Regions from separate parts of the Homo sapiens genome. Here all the other regions are linked to region 2. The links are contacts of gene promoters, found by promoter capture Hi-C in blood cells and fetal thymus (Javierre and others, 2016). All regions are on one chromosome and are shown on one strand. The core of a region is centred on a gene start or on the middle of the fragment in contact, and the rest is flanking DNA. Distances in the headings are between cores, read along the strand shown.

Region 1 (3,679 bases), core at 942-3,441, 3.5 Mb after region 2:
TGTAAGAACATGAGCTAAATTTTAACATTAATCTAATACAATATTAGAACTAACTAGAAAGAGAAACCTGTGCTGTAAAAAAAAAAAAATAACAGAGTCTGAAGCCAAAATATGCACCTAAGAATTGTGAAAGTTTACTGATTAGAATTTCTTTAGGTATATAGAAGTTGAATTACAAATTCTCATAGGGATAGGTTATCGTAAATATATTGGGTTATGAGTGTGTTTTTGACACATACTTTATAGCTTGGCATTTCTCAAAGCAGTCTGTCTTATAGTATTCTTCTATAGGATGTTAATTGACATGTGAAACCATGTACTGTGTTAAGCTGAGTTTGAAGAACAGTGGCTTAAAAAATTTTACTCGGCTGGGCGCGGTGGCTCACGCCTGTAATCCCAGCACTTTGGGAGGCCGAGGCGGGCAGATCACGAGGTCAGGAGATCGAGACCATCTTGGCTAACACGGTGAAACCCCGTCTCTTTTAAAAATACAAAAAATTAGCTGGGCGTGGTGGCGGGCGCCTGTAGTCCCAGCTACTCAGGAGGCTGAGGCAGGAGAATGGCGTGAACCCGGGAGGCGGAGCTTGCAGTGAGCCTAGGTGGCGCCACTGCAGTCCGGCCTGGGCGAAAGAGCGAGACTCCGTCTCAAAAAAAAAAAAAAAATTTTTACTCATCGCACTCAACGGTCTCCCAAAGTGGACATTGAAAATTTCCCAAATATATTTGCCCATGAAACACTTTTTCTTGAAACATTTTTAGCGTGTCCTGGAACCAGTGGATTTAGAAACCAGTTGTAATGTACTGTTTTAACTAGAGTACAGATAGTATTGTAGAACCAAACCACCATTTATAGCATTGATTCGACAAGAAAATTCTTTGGACTATCTGAACACGTGAAGTCACTCTCTGTGACAAAAGTCTAGGCACATGCTGCCCAAAAGAAATATAATATGAGACATCTGTATAATTTGAAATTTTCTGTAGTTGCATTGAAAAAAAGTCAAAACAAAAGTTGAAGTTAATTTTAATGATTTTATTTAAATGATACATCTAAAATGTTACTCAGTGTAATCAATATTAAAATATTGATGTTATTTTATATTCTTTTTCACTAAATCTTCAGAACCTGGTATGTGTTTTACACTTAAGGCACATTTTAACTAGTACTAATCACATTTAAGTGCACCATGGTACTTTACTGGACAGTGTACTTTTGACTTCCATTCAGTACACATTGAGATTTCCCATTCCTCTAACTGTCAAGGACTGGTAGCGGCTTCTGGGACTTTTGTAACTTAGTTGAGTGTGTGGTAGGAGGAAGGGGATAATTCTGGAGGAAGCTTGATAGGACAAAAGAGTTGGTTCATTGAAGGTGGGTCAGTGATTGAGTCCTTCTGCTGCAGGAGTAAGGGTGGGACCTTTTTGTGGCTTTGACTCTCAGGGGACAGGAGCATCTCTTGGAGGTGGGTCAGGAGGGATAAGTATTCAAGGGAATTGGCACCCTTATTAGTGCCTGGGGGACTGTAGCAGTCAGTGGGTGTTTTTGCATAAACCAGTGTTCCCTAACTTTGCCACATAATTGTGCATACACCTGTGGTGCACCTACACATATTACTTGTTTAGCACCCTGAGGTAAACAGACAAAGCTCTCAATAGTAAATGGTAAAGTCATGGTTTGAACCTGGGCTGTGCAGTTTCATCTGTGCCTTTAGCTATACTGACAGAATTGGGTAGATTTGAGAGATACTGGGCAGTCAAATTGACAACTTGATAATGAATTGAATAAAGGAGATATGGTAGGAGAAAGGAATCAAGGAAATCTCCCAGGTTTTTCACATGGACACCTGGGTGGTTGGTGGTATCGTACTAAGACAGGAAATTCAGGAGGAAGAACAAGTTTGGGCGGGGAAAGAGGTGGTAATTTGTGCAGTTTGCAAATTTCAGGGTAAGGTGCTTGTGGAACATCCTAGAGGATGTCCAAATGGGTCTTGGATATACAGTTTGGTGGTCAGAAGAGGTAGGTAGATTAGAAGCAGAGATATAGGACATACAACTACATAAGTTGTAGCTCAAGGGGCTGACCTAGGGAGGATGCTTAGCGTGAAAAGAGGGTGTAGGATAGAATTCTCAAAGGGTAGAGAAAGACAGGAGTGGCCAGAGATGTAAAATAACAAGCAGTAAGGAATGCCACTGATACCCATGGAAAGAGCACTTTGAGGCTGGATGTGGTGGTTCATCGCTATAATCCCAGCATTTTGGGAGACTGAGGCAGGAGGATTGCTTGACACCAGGAGTTTGAGACCAGCCTGAGCAACATGGCAAGACCCTATCTTTACCAAAAAAAGTTAGCCCGGCATGGTGGCTCACACCTGTAGTCCCAGCTACTTGGGTGGCTGAGGCAGGAGGGTCGCTTGAGCCCGAAGTTTGAGACTGCAGTGAGCTATAATTATGCCACTGCATTCCAGGGTGGGTGATAAGAGTAAGACCCTGCCTCAAAAAAAAAAAAAAAAAAAAGAACAAAGAAATAAAAATGGAAAGAAAGAACACATTGAGAAGTGGAGGTGAGCATTGGTATTAAGAAAATGAGGACCAAAAAATGTCCACTGGGTTGACACCAAGCAGGTCTGTGACTTTGTTGAGAACAGTTTGGCAGAGTCATGGGGCTGTGGCCAGATTAAAGGGAGGTTCCAAGTGTAACCTACTCTCAGAAAGTATGGCTGAAGAGGAAGAGAAAGGGAGGTATCTTTAAACACCTTTTTACATATTTTGAGTTAAAAAAATGTTTTTTTCTTTGCTGCTTTTCAGGTACAAAGTAGATTTCATAGAAGAGAAGGCATCTCAGAACCCTGAGAGAATAGTCAAGCTACACAGGTAAGTAAAAGTCTAAAAACTGGCTGCTATGTTAGAGTAAGGCTTAGCTTTATTGTTATCTGAATGAAGCATATGACCAAAAAAGATGAATTTGTGTCTTATTTTGTTCTTATTACCTTATTTTTGGTTGCTTCGTTCATTGTTTTGTTATGGTGGTAAATGGAAGCTTTAAATTATCTTCAGGAACACTTGTGGTTTCTATAATCCTCATTTTATTGTTTGCTATTTTTATTTAATTTTGAGTTGAAAACCACTGTTTAAGAATGTAATTTTTAGGTGTTTTGAAACTGGGCAAGATAGTCATTGTGATGAATTGAACATCGTAATTCATATGAATACTGACTAACTAGTAATTACTTAAGATACATGTAAGTTAAGCCAGAATGTGCTTTCTCAAGCATGGATGAGAAAGGTCCACTGCTTATGATGACGTTCTCCCATGGGGAGCAAGTCCCAAGACAATGCATTCTGCAGAAATGACTTCATGACCTGGATCCATTTTCTCAGCCTCCTGTTTTTATGAATTGGACTTCACTTTTTTCCTCTAGAAACTGCCCTTTGTTTCTGAACACAATCTGTCCTACACACTGAATTCTCAGCTTCGTTACATGGGTTATTGTAAGGTTGTAGATGATCGGTTTTAGGCAATTGGATCAGCTTGATAGCATGATGTGTTGCGTGACTCTTAAAGACCTTAAAACCTATATCAATGCTAATTAAGAAAATGGTTCATTTGATTTAATTTTCAAAGTTTTAGCCTCTTTACTTGAGATCATTATGTCAGGGGTCATTAGAAACTGAATTGAAC
Region 2 (3,949 bases), core at 80-2,579:
TGGAGGAGGAGGAAGAGACAGAGTGGGGAGGTGCCACACACTTTTAAACAACCAGGTCTTATGAGAAGTCACTCACTATCACAAGAACAGCTGGGGATTATAATTCCACATCATATTTGGGCAGGCAATTCAAACATATCAGTGGCATTTACATTTTTGCAAAAATCCAAACCATATCAGTGGCATTTACATTTTTGCAATTTTTTTTTTTTTTTGAGACAGGGCCTCACTCTTGCCCAGGCTGGAGTGCAGTGGCATGATCTCAGCTCACTGCTGCCTCAACCTCCCAGGCTCAAGCAGATCCTCCAACCTTAGCCTCCCAAGCAGCTGAGACTACAGGTGCATGCCACCAAGCCAAAGGGATTTATATTTATCTATAAATTCATATATAAATCAGATATATTTATATAAAATGTGTATATTATATATATAAATCAGATAAATAAATATGTATTTATATCTGATCTTAAAAGAGTAAAAGGGATTTATATTCCCAGGAAGAAGTAGAAAAGAGGAATATAGATAGTGGTTAAGAACCGGCATTTTGCAATAAGTCTGATCTAGATAGGAATTCTAGCTTTAATATTTACTAGCTCTGTGATCTTGGGAAAATTATTTACAGTTTGTGAACTTCAGTTTCCCTTCTACAAAATAGAGACAGTACCATTTAATTTTTAATTTTTAATGGTATCGTCTCCATTTTATGGAAGGAAAACTAAATGGTATTTTAACCGACAATTCATTAATTTTTAAGACTGACCATTAACAGAGATACTGCATGTAAAGCAGATCACACAGAATATGGCACACTTGAGCACTTGATGTGTACTACATTACTCTTAGTGACGACTTTAATTATCGTGCGCATTCCCAGCGCTTCCTATGGTGCCCAACACAGAGCGGACGCCTAGAGACAATTTTGGGGGATGGGGCAGATGCTCTGCCTCGGGAAAAAAAAAGCACACCTGCCCTGACGTTGGTGGCTGGGTCTGGAAGATACGTGGAAATTAAGCTAAGGATGTGTGGCTTCCAGATCAAAAACCGCAAAAATCTAACGCCGTGACTACTGACTACGGTCAGAGAGCACAGACTGGAGCAACCTCTCACGGCCTGGGCTGTCTGCGCGTGCGTGAGCCAGAAACCCGAGGGGCTCCCTGGGCCCGCCCTATCGATCGACCCGATCGGGGATCGTCAGCTTGGTTCTGGCCACAGAGGTTGCTCTTCTCGCGATGCTTCAGACCTGGCGGCAGGGAAAGGGTGGGCTAATTGGAGAGCCAGGAAGAGCGTGAGGCGGCCCCACGCTGCTTTCCCAGAAGGCTGTGCGTGCTCCTCGCTTCCTCCGCGGTCTTCCGAGCGGTCGCGTGAACTGCTTCCTGCAGGCTGGCCATGGCGCTTCACGTTCCCAAGGCTCCGGGCTTTGCCCAGATGCTCAAGGAGGGAGCGAAAGTAAGGGCTGAAGGAAAGGAATGAGGTGGGAGCGTCAGCATAGGGCTGCGGCGGCCGCGGCGAAGTAGGAGGGCCTACTAACGGGCTGAGCGTGCTGCCCTGGCTCAGCGGCCGGGGGAAGAGAAGATTCCAGAAAGGGAGGTGATTTTGGAAGGGCTCGGCCACCGGAGCCTGCGGGCACTTCTCTTCTTCCGCGACCGGGAGAAGGCCGAGGGATCGGCGGCACGATCGACATTGTACACCTTGAAGGTGGACGGATGTGAAGCCGCGCGTGCGTTTTGCCTCCATCCGTAAATGGGGCTAAGGCCCGTCACCCTTAAAGGAGGTTGTGAGGGTGAAATTGAATAACGTAGATGAAATTGTCTTGAGAACTGCGACGTCGATTATCACATAGCTCGCGAGTTGTAGGATGGGGAAGAACGAGAACTAGCCGATCCAGAGAAGAGAGTGGGAAAAAGGGCCGGGTCTTGGTTGCTTGCTTCCCAGTGAGAAACATACGGCTTTCAGCTTAGTTGACAGAAGCCATGCGTTGTAGCCAAATGAGTTCCGGTCCCAACTTATGTTAGCTGGCTTAATCTAAAATGTAACTTTCTTGGGTTTTGTTTCCTTCGTCTTTAAATTATGGAGATTGGACCAAGAGGTGGTGTCTTTGAGTTCTGTGTAATCTGCAGGATAAGTGATAGAGGGGTGCAGATAACACTTTTGTTTAATGGCCTTTTCTTGAACGTTAGTTCGGTAGCATAGTTTTAAAAAATATCTTACTGCACTATTGATAAATTTGTCTCTTGTGCTATTCAAATTGCATTCCTCTGTGTGTCCTCCAGATTTTGTTAATTCAAGAAATAGATCAGTGTGGTTGAATTTAAGGTTTTATGCGAGGTACGGGGAGCATTAACAGTTTAATAGAACTAGGTTCATGTTTGTAGGATGCACTTTTCAAATAATGTCGGTATAGTAAGTAAATGTCAGGGTTCAAGGTAAATGTTGGTGGAATAATCTTTTGAAAATGATATGGGCTGATTCCCTTGAAAAAATCAGGCTGAGATAATAGCTTCCAATTTGGGTTTTTTTCACTAATACAGTTTTGGAAAACTCGTGTATCACAAAACATTATTTGTCATTCCAGTGCTAGTAGTTTTTTACAGAACACTGAGCTATTTCTTTCAATAAATAGGTACTGAAGGAACTGCAGTGAAAGACAAAAGTCCCATTTGTCGTAGAGTTTATGTCCTTCTAAGGCAGAAATAATGATTAAATAAAAGGAGAATTCCAAATAATGATGAAAGAAACTGCACTATAGTAGAGGATGACAGGAGGTAAAAATGTCTGTAAAAGAAGGATCAGGAATAGACAGAACACTTAGACGTTTAGGGAAGAACTCTTAGCTCAGTGCTTAGTGAGAGAAGCCCCTGAGCCTGGGCTGTTTCCCCCGACCTCTTACTTAGGGGGAAATGCCAGGCTCAGGGACTAACTAGTACAAAGACCCTGAGGAAGGAATGATTTTGACCTGTTTTTTTTTTAAAACAACAACAACAACAACAGGTTGTAGGGCTGAAGCTTACCAAAGAAAGGAAGAATGGTAAGTTCAGAGGAGGAGCCATACAAGGGCCGGGATACGTAGGGCCTTGTTTCCTTGAAAAGGGATTTGCATTTTATCCTAAGCTGGTTGGGAAACCATTGAAGGGTCTTAAGTATGGGAATGAGGGGATCTGATCAAATGGTAGTTTCTCACAGAATGGGGAGTGAGGGGAAGAAGCAAGAGTGTAAGCCAGGAGTTCAGACTTAAGTGTTATTGCTGGAATAACAGTTCTTATTGCTGAAGATGCTTTTAAAGCAGTGGCTATTGGCAGGGGTTGGTGGCTCACACCTGTAATCCCAACACTGGGGAGGCCGAGGTCAGTGGATCACTTGAGGCCAGGAGTTCCTGGCCAACATGGTGAAACTCCGCCTCTCAAAAAAATACAAAAAAAACCAACCTGGTGTGGCGCGCACCTCTAATCCCAGCTACTCAGGAGGCTGAGCCTCCAGAATTGCTTGAACCCGGGAGGCCCAGGTTGCAGTGAGCTGAGATCGTGCCACGATCTCAGCTCACTGCACTCCAGCCTGAGCGATAGAGGAGACTCTCTCTCTCTCAAAAAAGAGTAATGGCTATTAACCTTGGTTTTGGATCACAAAATCATGGCTTGTATTGTAAAGCAGTACTATGTAAATAGAACTTTTTGCAGTGCTGGACATACGCTGTATCAGCGCTGTCCAGTGTGATATTCACTACCCACATGTAGCTACTGGGCATTTGAACTGTGGCTCCTGCAATTGAGGAACTGAATTTTTTAATTTTAATTACTTGAAAGTTTATTTTGATTGCTTTCACTAGCCCCATGTATGTAGCTAGTGGCTACTGTATTGGGCAGCGCTTCTCTAAAGAAATGTTCTCATGCACAGTAGATTAGTGAAATATATCTGAGGACCCAAGTAAACCTCAACTCTAAAAAAGTCCAGTGTA
Region 3 (3,806 bases), core at 331-2,830, 3.4 Mb after region 2:
GACAGAAAGAAAGAGAGAGAGAAAGAAAGAAGAAAGAGAAAGGAAGGGAGGAAGGAAGGAAGGGAAAAAAGCAAAACAAAAAAGGTGAGAGAAAAAAGAAAAAGCAAAAGTAGAACTGCATTGCTTAGTCTATTGTAATTTCCTCCATTTTCCTAAAAAGTTAACGCGAAGAAAACAAAATAACGGCAACGTTCCCAGGATTTCAAATCTCATGAGTCCAGAATCCGTGAAAATCCTGTTTAAAATCATCCGGTGAAATTGGCTTTGGGACGTCTCCCCAGCTACTGGATCATGTGGCTTCTGAATCTTTCTAACAATCGTCCCGTTGGATGTCCCCTGAGGACAGAGCAGCTGGCTAGAGTCCCCAGACCAGACTTCTCTAAGTGAATGTAGATGTGCAGGTGGAGAGGATAAAAGTAATTCTGGCTCAGCAGCCACGAATTCCCTCCACCTCCGCCCCACAAGTGCGCTGCATATCGCCGGCTCAGCTGGGACGCTACAGAGCCCAGACCACGCGGACGCTGCCCCCTCCCCGGGGACTCAAAGTGTGGCCGGCGCCCGCCTCCCAGTGATGCCATCTTTCTTGGGGTCTTAGCATCTTACCAGTGGGTAGTGAGTTTTGCATTCGAATCACGTCCCTCTGTCTGAAAACTTACCCCAACTTTGCAAACAGATGAGAACCTGCTAGTGGGAACCCTTAATTTTCTGTATCTAGAACTGACAAAATCAGACGCAATTCACAAGAAACCCACGACCTCGCGCTCCCTTGCTCCCAGCGTCCGCTCGCGGGCACCCTGGGTTTCCCGCTCGCCTGGGCGCAAGGTCAGACGCCCCGCGGCGACCTCGGCCCAGAGCCGCCCAGACACTGTCAGCCAGCGCCCCGTGGGGGGCTGGAGGGTGGGGGCAGGCTGGTCCAGGCAGGAAGGGTAGAGGAACCCGAGCAACTTACAGCCCAGGGCGACCACCAGGTAGCGCAGCAGCAGCAGGAGGAGGCGGTGGCGGCTCCTCCTCGCCATCTTCCCGGGGCGGCAGCCGGCTGCTCTGAGGAGGTCGAGGGTCCCGGCGGCAGGAGCGCAGGAGGCCGGGGGCCCTTGAACTTCTGGGGCGGGAAAGGAGCAGAGAGTCGGGAGGGGAGGAAGAGGAGGGACGGCTCTAGATGGGATGTCAGTTTCCCCCTCCCCGGGGCGCCTTCTCAGCTGGCTGCCAAGAGGCGGGTCCTCCAGCCCAGGGATGGGGGTCTGTTCTGTTTTGGGGGTGTGGGGGTAGGGGCTAGAGGGCGTGAAAACCAGACGAGGCGTCCGCCGGGTCCTAGCGAGGGGGCAGCAGGAGGAGAGCAGCGCCCGGGAAAGCCCCGGCGGGTCGTCCCTCCGCCCCCACGCCTCCGGGATTGATCGGCTTTGTGTCTGGTCCGCGCGGGGCTGCCAGCTGTCCCCAGGGCGAGGAGCTGGGGGCGGGAGGCGCGGGCAGGCTGGGGGTGGGGGGATTGGGTGTCTCGGGGACGGGGATGTATGCGGGTAGGGAAACGCCTCCTGTTTTGCCCCAACTCCTTTCTTCCCCTCGTTGGCTCAAAACTTCTTTCTGGCTTTTCAGCCTAGGGGTGGAGATATTTGGAAAATTCTGCCCAACGGGCGAAGCTGAGGGGGTGGCGCTCTGAGGAGATGGGGTTCGCGGGCTCCGCCTCGAACTCGAGAAAAAAAAAAGCAATCAAGACTCGTGCTGGAAGTCAGGTCTCAGATTTTAGTACAGCCTTGGTCCCTTCTCAGTTTAAGCTTTTTGCTCCTTGGAGATTTGAGGTGCATTTGTCTCGCGTTCTTGTTCTTTGCTTTTTTTTCAGTGTCAGAGTTGGAAGTTCATCTAATGGTGTGAAATATTTATCATGTTTCTTTCAAGTTACATAACTGCTGCTTGTGGAGTTTTCCACGTGTTAAAACTCTACAGCTGCCCTTTGTCAGGTTTATTTTTGGTCTACTGTGCTTTTAAAAGGGAAACCCATTATGAATGCTCTGTTGCGTGCTTTAAAATTGCACCACACTTACATTGGACGCACGTACACTGGCAATTTTTATATTTGTTCCTAGGGACCAAAAATGTATGGTGTATTCAAGAGTATTGGCAGGTCTGGAAAAAGGCCATTCCCAGGAGAAGAAATTAGTATACATCAGTTTTTTTCTTTTGTTTTTTTGTTTGTTTTTGTTTTTGTTTTTTTTTAAAGGTTGAATAATGGATGAAGTTCTGTACAGCAGATAGTTGATTTAGTGGTGTATTTAAAAAGAATTCAGCTAGCTCAGTGGACAAAGGCGACCAGAGTTTAGCTGTGCAGAACTGTGAGGAATGAGGCATCCTTGCTGTTGCCGTGGTGACAGTGATGAAAACTTAGTACCCAGGGAGGGGGTGGGAGGAGAGGACCCAGGGGACCCAGAAAGGAAAGTCAAAATGGCAAAATGTTAAAACTCGTACTCCAGTCAACCGAGGAGAAGGGGCACAGATTTAACAACAGCTTATGCCAGTTTTTCTGGGCAGTAATGAGAAGGATTTGATGCTTAAAAAGAAAAGTTGTTGGCATCTTCTTTTTTCTAATTCTTGCTACAGCTATATGTCTTTTACTCCTCCCTAAAAATATACACAAAAATGTCATACTTAAAAAAATTCTATGCAATCCTATGTGAGTAACTGACTAAGTTATTTATTTGCCACCCAGCCAAGGCATTTGACAAATGGCAACAATGTGCTGGATGCTGAAGGACAACCATGAACAAGATAGAGGCTTTCTTGCTAACAAGCTCACAGTCTTGAGGGGAGACAGAGTCTTATCAGGAAAGATGCCTGATACCACATGGTAAATGTTACAGGAGGACAGAAAATAATAACAGCTATTTTTATTGCATGCTTTCTCAGTGATGGAGTCTGAATAACGCAATATCTAATCCCCCAACAACTCCATAAAAGAGGAAATGTTATCATTCCCACTTTGCAGATGAGAAAACTGGGCGGAGAGACACTAAATGGCTTGTCCAAGGTCCATGATAAGGGGCTGTTCCTTTTGTTGGGAGTGGGGCCAGGGCTTTCTTTATTAAACCTTGAAAAATGGGTCAAATTCTGAAGGGAAGGACATAAAGGAGAGGCATTCTACATAGAGGAAACAGCAGGATCCAGAGCTAGGAGATTGAAAAATTATGGTTTATTTAGAAAAAGCAAGGTTCTACAGTACTAAAGTGTATGTGGGATCGGGATAGTGAGGTAGGTGGTGGTGGTGGTAGAAACTGAAGGGGAGGTTAGAGTACGAAGAGCATTCACGCTACTGTCTAGACCTCATCCTACAGCTAATGAGCTTTTTGAAAGCAATGAGATAAGAAAAGACTCATATTTTAGAACTGTGGTGTCCAATATGGTAGCCTATAGATCTAAGTGGCTATATACATTTTTTTTGTTTTGTTTTTAATTTGAGACAGAGTCTCACTTTGTCACACAGGCTGGAGTACAGTGGTGCAATCTCAGCTCACTGCAACCTCCGCCTCCCAGGTTCAAGTGATTCTCCTGCCTCAGCCTCCTCAGTCCAGTAGATGGGACTACAGGCATGTGCCACCATGCAGGCTAATTTTTGTATTTTTTGTAGAGATGGGGTTTCGCCATGTTTGCCAGGCTGGTCTCGAACTTCTGACCTCAGATGATCCACACGCCTTGGCCTCCCAAAGTGCTGGAATTACAGGTGTGAGCCACCATGCCTGGCTGGCTATATAAATTTGAATTCAATTATATGTAAAATGCAGTTCTCCACTGACACTGATCACATATGAATTTCTCAATAG

Evidence for each region. The method cuts DNA at HindIII sites, captures the fragments that hold promoters and counts their contacts. A CHiCAGO score of 5 or more calls a contact.
Region 1: a fragment that was not itself captured here is called in contact with the fragment with the promoter of CCT8 in region 2 in 2 of 17 cell types (total CD4 T cells and naive CD8 T cells); the score reaches 7.4 in total CD4 T cells.
Region 3: a contact is called between the fragment with the promoter of JAM2 here and the fragment with the promoter of CCT8 in region 2, in 1 of 17 cell types (total B cells). The highest score is 5.1, in total B cells.

Annotation. Positions count from the first base shown.
Region 1 is chr21:25,593,085-25,596,763 of GRCh38, reverse strand. It overlaps MRPL39 (mitochondrial ribosomal protein L39), which reads left to right. Exons shown (of 10, transcript NM_017446.4): 7 at 2,806-2,871. Among named protein-coding and RNA genes, the nearest start is that of LINC00515, 12 kb to the right of the region's middle. The HindIII fragment of the contact is 1,697 bases long and covers 1,343-3,039 here.
Region 2 is chr21:29,071,028-29,074,976 of GRCh38, reverse strand. It overlaps CCT8 (chaperonin containing TCP1 subunit 8), which reads left to right and starts at 1,329. Exons shown (of 15, transcript NM_006585.4): 1 at 1,329-1,446. The coding sequence starts at 1,387. RefSeq lists enhancers at 1,104-1,273, 434-1,345, 1,724-1,893, 1,346-2,257. The HindIII fragment of the contact is 10,437 bases long and covers 1-3,005 here.
Region 3 is chr21:25,637,032-25,640,837 of GRCh38, reverse strand. It overlaps JAM2 (junctional adhesion molecule 2), which reads right to left and starts at 1,580. Exons shown (of 10, transcript NM_021219.4): 1 at 950-1,580. The coding sequence starts at 1,016. RefSeq lists enhancers at 598-667, 570-1,070, 1,808-1,947 and a silencer at 1,398-1,587. The HindIII fragment of the contact is 2,383 bases long and covers 1-1,771 here.